3 separate regions of the Homo sapiens genome follow, and all the other regions are linked to region 1. The links are contacts of gene promoters, found by promoter capture Hi-C in blood cells and fetal thymus (Javierre and others, 2016). All regions are on one chromosome and are shown on one strand. The core of a region is centred on a gene start or on the middle of the fragment in contact, and the rest is flanking DNA. Distances in the headings are between cores, read along the strand shown. Region 1 holds the start of PSMD6-AS1 (PSMD6 antisense RNA 1). Region 2 overlaps SLC25A26 (solute carrier family 25 member 26). Region 3 overlaps SLC25A26 (solute carrier family 25 member 26).

Region 1 (3,090 bases), core at 157-2,656:
ACAACAATGCAGTATTTATTTTATACAGCTGACCTGGGCACATTGTGAAGTAAGCTATAAAAATTCCAAATAATTATCTCTAAAGCAAATCCTTTGTTAGTTACATGGCTTTACATATTAATTACTCTGGAAAGTTTTTGAACTCTGTTTAGTAGCAGATCTCCTTTCTTGATAGTTTCTTGGTACTGCCAGTTCTTGCTATCAGGTCTATAAATAAATTCAAGAAAAAATGAATTATTTACCAGTCACATTATTCCATGACAATAGTTGACCTACTTTTAAAATTTAGGAATGCCCCTTATTCTGAGAAATGAGAGTACCTGTTGGTTTCTACTATTTCATTCACTTTATCTATTTTGCAGTGTAGTCTCCCGGCAGCAATAAACCTGGACAGTTCCCTAATTTAGAGACAAAAAATAACAGAATTAGCTTTATAGAAAATTCTTAGAAAAATGCAAACGGCATTAAAATACTGTCTTAAATTTGTAACAAACATTTAGCTTCCCTTCAAGCTTGTTATTGCACATGCAGTAGTTGACGTTGTCCCTCCTATACTGCAGGCTTTAAGTCATCATCTACTAGAATAAACATGATCCTAGAAGTTCATATTCAGATAGATAGAAAGTAGATCAAACAATGAAACCATATGTACTCAGAGAAAAACTGTAGGTTAGGAAAAATTAGGGACCAAAACTGATAAAAACAGTAAACTGTTTCAAACAAAAGACCTAAAACAAAATTATGGAACACAGCCCATCAGTAAACATGTCAACAGCAATAGTATTAACATGTCAACAGCAATAGTATTTACTAAAACAACGACCCTTTCCCTCTCTAACATATCTTAGTCTAAACAAGTGGAAGGGAAGGGGAGAAATGATGTAGAATTATTGCTTTGCCCATTTTAAAAAAGGGGATTTCATCTAAAATGTAACTTTTTAAGGGAGAAAAAAAGAATAAAGAATCCATGACAACCCAGATTTGAAATTCTTAGGTATCACAGAAATTTAAAACAAGGCCTTTTTAGGTAACAACAACTAGAGCTCAGTGGTACAACCTTTGCCTCTCAAGCTGGTCTTAGAACATGAAGGGAAAAAAAAAAAACTGAACAAATACTACCTGAATTCAACTACTACCTGAAAGGTACCAGCTGCCTTGCATTCACTTGTCATCAAGATGACTTAAGGAATACTGCGGTGTGTGCCCCTAACTAATGAAGGCTTTATCTCCACATTACAGTTACGATACTGAAGAGACGTAACCTGACCAAGGCCACAGAGCTGGAAAAAGAAGCAAAGCCAAGCCGTTTTTCTCATGCACTGCTCACAACAAGCCCCTCCTTCCACTGACTCATGAAAAACACACTCATAATGCCCAGCCCGCACCCTAATGAACAGCCCTCTTAAGAGTGGTCATCAGACTTCAATTTCACAGACTAGAATTGAGAAATGGAACAAAACCTTGGGATACCAGCCTTCCATTTTGGTAGGGATCATTTAAAAAATGGTAGGGATCATTTAAAAAATGTGTTGGTGTCTGAAACTTACTTTGAAGTGGTTAAAAAACATAAAATGTATAGATTGTAACAAGCAAATATGTTAAAATGTACTGTACAATTCTTTCTTTACAATTTTATGGATGTTCGAAATTTAAAAAATACTAGAAAGAGAATGGTCTTATTTAAAAGAAATGCATCTTCATTTAAAGTTTCCACTGCAGACCATTGAAAACACCATCATCAACATTTAAAAACACCTACATGTGGGAGCCACTGATCTAGATGCCATCTGGACATCCCATATTGAGTATGTCTCCTACCCAACTCTACTCTCACCACCCTCGTCCACGCCACGGTAACATCTCCTCTAAGAGCTACTAAACAGCACAACTGGTCCTCTCTGCCACCTTACTCTATTTCTTATATAAAGACACTGCATAGGACCATGTAACTTGGGCTCTAAATCTTCCAATGGCTCCCTATCAAACTTACTTAAAACTCAAGCTCCATCCCATGACCTACAAGGCCCTACACAAATCATTACCTACCTAACTCTCCATATATTATCCTCAAAATCTCCTACCACTCCAACTATGCTGGAGCCACCCTGACATTTTCTGTTCCTACAACATCCAAGCTTATTCCTGGCTCAAAGCCTTAGCCTTTTCTATTCCCTTTTCTGCACGCAGAAGGACTCCATATGGCTGACTCCTCTCAATTCAAATCTCAGAGCAAACCTCACCTCCTTAAGCATGCCGTACGTAAGGATAGCATTTTCTCATCTCCATAGGTTCATTTCTATATGTGAAATTACGTTTTATATTTATTTGCTTCCTTGCCATCTCTTCCCTACTACTACAATGAAAGTGTGAAAAGGGAGCTGTAAAACAATACCAAACATATAGTAATGAATGGCTCATTAAGTATTTATTTGTTTAATCACTGATGCAAGTACTAAAAGTCCCACATTTAACAACCAATCTGACCAGAATTGCAGCAGCAACCTAAAAACTGGAAGGAATTATCAGAGGGAATATGACCAACTGTAAATATCAGATCTAAGAGTCATTACCGTAGCTGCAGTGTGGTCTACAAAGAAGTAACAGAAGACAACTTTTGATAACAACTGGTCTAATGACCTTTAACAAATCACTTAGCCTCACTACAACTCATCTTCCCATCTGTTAATGCAAGGGGCAGACATGACATGAGGAAGGCAGAGGCAACAGGATACGAATGTTTTGATAATACTGAGGAAAAAAACCTCTCCCCTCCCCGTTAAGATTGAGGGAACCAATGTAAACAAGTAAAAAATTGTACAAGTTCACATATTTTAAAAGGCAACTTTAAAACTTCAATTAACATGGCATTATTCAAACTTACTGATCAATGAATTCCACACCAACACCAAACGCTTCTGCCATATAGCCAAGGGTTAATGACCTATATGATTCCAGCAGCTGACTGTATGCATGAATTCTCATTTCTCTTACATAGTATCGATAATGAGGGGCAAAAAGCCAGTCCTTTTTCATTTCCTGTTCCACAACCGCTGCAATGAATAAAATGACAAATTATAATAGACTCTCCGT
Region 2 (3,173 bases), core at 500-2,999, 2.2 Mb after region 1:
CTATAGAGGGTGAAGCTTCATGAAGCTGCAGAGGAGGTAGCTTAGGGTCAGTAGGTTGAGGTTCTTAGTTACCGTTTGCTGAGTGGCTTCTATATATCAAGTACAACCAGTAAATTAGAGATTTTTTTTTTCCCCAGGGGAAGCATGAATTTTGAATGGCTTAGCTTTTATATATTTGTAATATTCATTACAAAACTTGAGCAAATAAAAAATTAACAAGGTTGTTTAAAAAATTAATAATTCTTGTTATTTAAAATTGTTAAAAATTATTTAAAAATTAATTGTTAAAAAATTAACAAGAAATATTATTAACAGTAGTATTTCTCATCCTGAATCTCTTTCCACAGAGGCAATAATTTCTAGCAATTTACTGTTTATGTTCCAGACTTCTAATTATGCATATACAAATAGTTACACATTTTAAAAGATGGGATTATATAGCATATATTGTTTTATAGCTAATTTGATTAATTTAAGAATATAGTGTATGTTTCTGTGCCAATAAGTATGGGTTTACCTCATTTTTTTTTTTTTTTTGATTAGAGACAGGATCTTGCTCTGTTGCCCAAGCTAGAGTGCAGGGCAGTGGCGTGATCATAGCTTACTGCAACCTCAAACTCCTGGGCCCAAGTGAGCATCCCACCTCAGCCTCCCAGCAGCTAGGACTACAGACATGAGCCACTGCACCCAGCCTACCTTGTTGTTTTAAAGGCTATGTAGCAATTCATTATTTGTGTATAGCTTAATTTACTTAACAGGGCCCCAGTGGATGGACTTTTAGGTTGTTTTCAATTTTTTATTATTACAGAAATGCTGTAGTAGACATTCTTGTATATTTGTGCATTTATTTCTGTGGAAGAAATGCTTAGTAATAACTGGATCAAAGGTTTGATAATTTAAAATGTTCATTTTGCCAAATTGTCCTCCAGTAGATTATGGTAATGTTTTCGTTAACAGTGCCTGTACCCATTCTTCATATTTTTAATTTTTTTCTAATTGGGAAAACATTTTGTTTTTATTTGATAATGACAGAGAATCATATTTTCATATTTTTGTTAGTCATTTATATTTTTCTTTTGGGAATTGCCTGGTCCTGTCTTTTGCTATTTTTGAAAAAAATTCAGTGTACCTTTTTAAGGTTGATTTGTAGTGCCTTCTAAAATATAGATAGTAACCCTTTATTAGAGCCATTGAATGCCTCCTATTAATATGTGCTGGTGCTGGAAACATATTAGTAAACAAAACAGATATAGATCTTGTGGTTTAATTGGACTGGTACTGAACAAATGGTCAGAGGCAAAACTATGTAATTAAAATTGTGTTCAGTGCTTGGAAACAACAAGATCTAAACCTGAACTGGAGATTAGGGGGCATCTGTACAAACTCCTTGAAATGAGGAAGATCAGATGATTTAGAGGAAAAGATCCAGGTGGAAAGAAAGGACTGAACAAAGGGCACATAGTGCGAGTTTTGGGAGTTGGAGGGGCTCCAGAACCTCCAGAGCCTGGAAGGCTGTGCTAGGATTTTCTTCTTCATCCTCGGGGCTGTTGGAAAGTTTGGAAGATTTATAGGCTGGAGAGTGGCAAGATGAAATTTGGATTTTATGAAAATGATTAGTACAGAGAGGCAGCGAGCACTGCAGGGAGAATGAATGGGAAGTGGGGAAGACGACAGGTATGTCAGAAAGCAGAGGTGGCAGTTCTGCAGTGAGGAAGATGGTGGTTCAAGTCATGGGTGGCAACTTCATGGTGGAGGAAACCGAGACTGTCGGGAATGTTTCCCTTGAGAAGCCATGTTAATGTTATGGCTGGCTCTTCTTAGCTGTCGTTTAGGCCAGTGGCCTCTATTAATTTTGCTTAGTTACATTACACAGATGGTTTGGTTTTGCCCTAGAGGGGAGCAGCAATGCTGTTTTTATGGTGTGCCCTCCTCCTTTTGAGAAAAAAAGTTTTATAGCATGTAATTCTGACCTATAACTTCTCAGAGTAATTGCAGAGCACTAATTGGGCACTTCCTCTCTACAGTCTGCCAACACTTCATACGTTTATTAACTTAAGGTAGAGACATGTATTTTATCTATAAGATATTGAGGTCTCGATACATTGTGATGCTGTAGCAAGGTTTGCTGGTTATCTGGGTTATGTCCTATTTCTTTGGATTTTTTTCTAGTTAGAACTTTTCGGTATAAGCTACCATAAATTATGAAATGAATCACTTGCCTGATAACTTTCTGATAGATGATTATAGCAAAATAACATTTTCAGGCTAAAGAATAAAAGAGTTTGATGGAGTTCTTTATAATTAGGTTGTTACTGGCTTATATATTTTTTACATAATTACATACAAAACAATATTGATATAGGCATTCCTTAAGGATTTTGTTTAAATCTGAAATATGTGGTTGTGTGGATAAATATATAGGTATTCTTATTCTTCAGGTTCTCTGTTAGCTGTTTTTCTTTTTTTTCAGTCGCATGAATTTAAATGACATTTGAGTTATATAGAAGTTTGAAATCGATAGAAGCGTTTAGTAATCCTTGAGTGATGTTTTACCAGACAAGTAAATTGAATCTGGTCATTTTTTTCCTCAGAAGATAATAATTGTGATGAAAGAAGGGTTAGAGAATCAATACATGTAAGGTAGCCAACTAGATTGAAAGAGTAATTATTGATTAAAATTTAGCAGTAGATAGCACTTCTCTGAATTCTCTCCTAAGATTAAAGAGAAAATTAGAGTGAAGTGCAGCATGTTTTTAAATAATCTAGTCGCACGAGACATTTTCGCCAGGGTTCTATTCTCTCTGTATTTTGAGAAAACGAGGAGGCATGCAAAATATTTGCCTACCAAATTATTATTAGAGATGAGTCTCCCTGTGTTGCCCAGGCAGGAGCGTGGTGGCTATTCATGGGCATAATCATAGCTCACTGTAATCTCAAATTCCTGGGCTCAAGCGATCCTCCTGCCTCAGCCTCCCAGGTAGCTGGGATTACAGGTACATACCACCATGCCCGGCTCTACTTACTGAATTTTATAAAAATCCTGAAACAAGAATTAAGAAGAGTTTTGACAATTGGCCTTTTTACTTTCCTACATTACTTGTGAACTTTTTCCCATGACTTAGGGAAGGCCACCTTTATATCCAGAAAGAAATCCCACGTTATTGGATATTCTT
Region 3 (3,263 bases), core at 194-2,693, 2.3 Mb after region 1:
TGAGGTTTTGTAATGCATTCCATTTGTGGCTGTTCTTTATCAAAATATTACTATAACAGTAGCTTCCTTAGTACATCAGACATCAGGACACTGAAGGTCTAGTTGCAGTTTTGCCACTCGCTATCTTGTGCCTTTTGAAGTTGTTTAATCTCTCTGGGTATTGATTTCCTTTTTTAAAAAATAGTTGGTAAACTATGACCTGTGGGCCTAATCCAGATCACAGCCTGTTTTTGTAATAAAGCTTTATTGGCATGCAGCCACTTTCTTTCATTTATGTATTGTCTGTCTGCTTTCACACAACAGTGGCAGAGTTGAGTAGTTGTAACAGAGACTGTATGGACCATAAAGCCTAAGCTATTTATTATCTGACTCTTTACAGAAAAAGTTTTCTGAATCCTAGACTAGATCATCTTTGAGGGCTGTGCTGTGCCTTAGATTAGATTTCCTTTTTGTCAATTTCTCTTTAATTCTAAGTTCTCAAAAGATGTCTGTCTTTAAAGGATATAGCATATCATTTCCTCGTTATCAAATTTGCAAATTATGAAAAGAAGGAAAATACTGAGTAGATCATTGGTTCCCAAAGTACAGTCCCTCCACGAATAGCAGCTGCATTCCCTAGGAACTTGCTAGAAATGCAGAATCTAAGTCCCCACTTGAGATCTTCTGAATCAGAAACTTGGGGTGAGGCCCAGAATTTGTGTTATACACCCTCTGCATGATTCTGATGCATTCTGAAGTGTGAGAACCACTGGACTAGGTGATACAAAGTTCAGTTAACAGATTTTCTTCTGTTTTGAAAAAAAGAAGAGCTTAAATACCAAAACCATTTGATAGGTATATCAGGAGGAAAATGAAATGTTGGATATTATTACTAAGCTGGTGAAATTAATATTTTCTCTAGTAAAACTCCTTGTCATAAATTGTGGATAAGTTTTAATATAATGAGAAATTTCTGAGAGGTACATCTGTGTCACTTTCAGCATATTTTTAATGGACAGAAAAGTAAATATGATTTATTTCTTTGTGGGGTTTTCTTTTTTTGGTGGGAGATCACTTTGAATTATTTCAAAACTGATGATTTGTAATAAACAGTTTTCAGAATAAAAGAATTACATTAAGAATTAATTTGCTTGTGAAGAAAGTGTCTTAAGAAAAGAGCATTTAAGGGGCACAGCAGCCTCTGCTGTAGCTGGATTTCTTACCCATTTTAAGTGACATCAGTGTTGAATTGACTTTTTCCTCAGTGCTAAAAGCTGCTAGAAATGAGCACCAGTCACACTACTGATCTGTGTTAGGAAAGATCACAAACACAGTACTTTGTAATAAATGTCAGAGGAATAGCAAAATTGTACATGTCAAGAAAGCATTACAGGATGACGTTGCTATTTGGAGAATTGCTTTCATCTTTGAGATATCTCACACCTGCTTCATTTGGCATAGGTTGTTTCTATTTCATGAAAAACAGTCTTTTCCCTCCCCCAGATCCCAAGTTACATAGAAACAGTATGCTAACAAGGGAAAAATTTTAACATAAAAACTCACTTGAAGGTGCCATCTAAAAACTCAGTGTGTAAACTTAGTTAACTAACTTTATTTTGTTGAAAAGGGACCCTTGGTTTGTGTGTGTGTATGTGTGTGTACACATGAATACGTACCTATGTATACATTTGTTACTGTGTGTGTGTTTATATATGTATGTATACAGTTCATTTGATGTGCGTGTATATGCACCCATTTCCATGTATGTATTTAAAAGAATACATACAACAAACTTTTTTTTTGAGGCAAAGTTTCCCTCTGTCACCCAGGCTGGAGTGCAGTGGCACAGTCTCGACTCACTGCAACCTCCGCCTCCTGGGTTCCAAGCGATTCTCATGTCTCAGCCTCCCGAGTAGCTGGGACTACAGATGTGTGCCACCATGCCTGGCTAATTTTTGTGTTAGTAGAGACTGGGTTTTGCTGTGTTGGCCAGGCTGGTCTTGAAGTCCTGGCCTCAAGTGATCTGCTCACCTCAGCCTCCGAAAATGCTGGGATTATAAGTGTGAGCCGATGTGCTTGGCAAACAAACTTTTGTATATATAATCCTTTCATACTAATATTTAACTACTTGTAAAAACTATGTTAACCCCCAGTCACTAACACAGTTCCGTAGTCCATATTTATTATTGCTTCTTTCACTTTTCTCCTTTCTTCATGCATGAAAATATAATGTGATCCAAGGGGGTATGTGTGCATGAGGTGTGTGTTTATAGAGTAACAGTTAAATGTCTCGAAATAAACTGATTTGGATTTTTAGGTTATAGATGTTTTTGTTTTTTATTAAACGTCTTGATTGTTTGACTGTCATGGTTGTTTGTATAACTCCTTGAGAAACTTCCACATGCGGGTAGTTTTTGAAAAAGAAAATATTTATTTGCTTCAGTTTTTCAGGGGATGGTATCATACTGCTTTTTCACATTTTATGGGTGACATATTTGGCTATCTCTGGGCAAAAATCCAGTTAAAAATAATAGTATTTAATATTTAATAAACTACCAGGCTTTTGAGCCATCTGGAACTTTATTTTCTTTGCACGCAGCATCTGAGTTTCAGCTGTTAGCGTTTCTCCTTTGCTCTGGGAAGGGTCAATTGCTTTTAAAGTCTTTGAAGCTTGCTGTGTCAGCCCTTTTCATATTTTCAAAATGCCCGTGTAAAAGGGTTTTTCATCCATTCATGCTGATAAGTCTTTTGAACTTGAGGTTTGAACCAAGCTAATCAAATTTAATTATAGCTTAAATCCCGTTACAGTGAACTCCAGTGGACTTCTAGGCTAGGGTTTTTTTGTTTTGTTTTTTTTTTTTTTTTTGGTGTTATACTGGAATTTAGCCATTACCAATATTACTTGAAGTGAGCAGGCCATTGACTGCAGTTTGGGAGACCTTTTGTAATGGTCAGATTTTAGTTATAGTGACATTGGCAATATGATTTGAACTTTATTCTTTTCCAAAGGAAATAATTGAATTAGCCACAAGTAAAATTTCTTGTTCTTTGCATATATTTCAAATTACCTTTTCCTATTTGTCTTAAACAATTTTGAACAATTAAAATCTTAAAAGTACTTTCTTAAAGAGTCCTTTGGTGGTGGTGTCGCTGATGCTCGTTTTTTGTTTTTAAGATCCATAACAGAATAAGGATTTATATACATCCTCCTAGGGATAATGTCATGGTTTCTGCATATTTGCATAGCATTTTGAGAGAGACTTTTTCCTTTTTGCTTCATGAAA

The links. Contacts are between HindIII fragments. The CHiCAGO score rates a contact against its expected background, and 5 or more counts as called.
Region 2: a fragment that was not itself captured here is called in contact with the fragment with the promoter of PSMD6-AS1 in region 1 in 1 of 17 cell types (total CD8 T cells); the score reaches 5.4 in total CD8 T cells.
Region 3: a fragment that was not itself captured here is called in contact with the fragment with the promoter of PSMD6-AS1 in region 1 in 1 of 17 cell types (total CD8 T cells); the score reaches 5.2 in total CD8 T cells.

The regions. Positions count from the first base shown.
Region 1 is chr3:64,010,558-64,013,647 of GRCh38, forward strand. PSMD6-AS1 (PSMD6 antisense RNA 1) reads left to right here and starts at 1,407. Exons shown (of 2, transcript NR_189168.1): 1 at 1,407-1,485. PSMD6 (proteasome 26S subunit, non-ATPase 6) reads right to left here. Exons shown (of 8, transcript NM_014814.3): 6 at 2,882-3,050; 7 at 321-398; 8 at 1-207. The coding sequence ends at 111. PSMD6-AS2 (PSMD6 antisense RNA 2) reads left to right here. Exons shown (of 3, transcript NR_038286.1): 3 at 1,240-1,686. The HindIII fragment of the contact is 1,623 bases long and covers 511-2,133 here.
Region 2 is chr3:66,231,243-66,234,415 of GRCh38, forward strand. The region is part of intron 1 of SLC25A26 (solute carrier family 25 member 26); the gene reads left to right. Among named protein-coding and RNA genes, the nearest start is that of SLC25A26, 12 kb to the left of the region's middle. The HindIII fragment of the contact is 3,472 bases long and covers 14-3,173 here.
Region 3 is chr3:66,297,429-66,300,691 of GRCh38, forward strand. All of the region lies in intron 5 of SLC25A26 (solute carrier family 25 member 26), which reads left to right. Among named protein-coding and RNA genes, the nearest start is that of SLC25A26, 78 kb to the left of the region's middle. The HindIII fragment of the contact is 2,408 bases long and covers 240-2,647 here.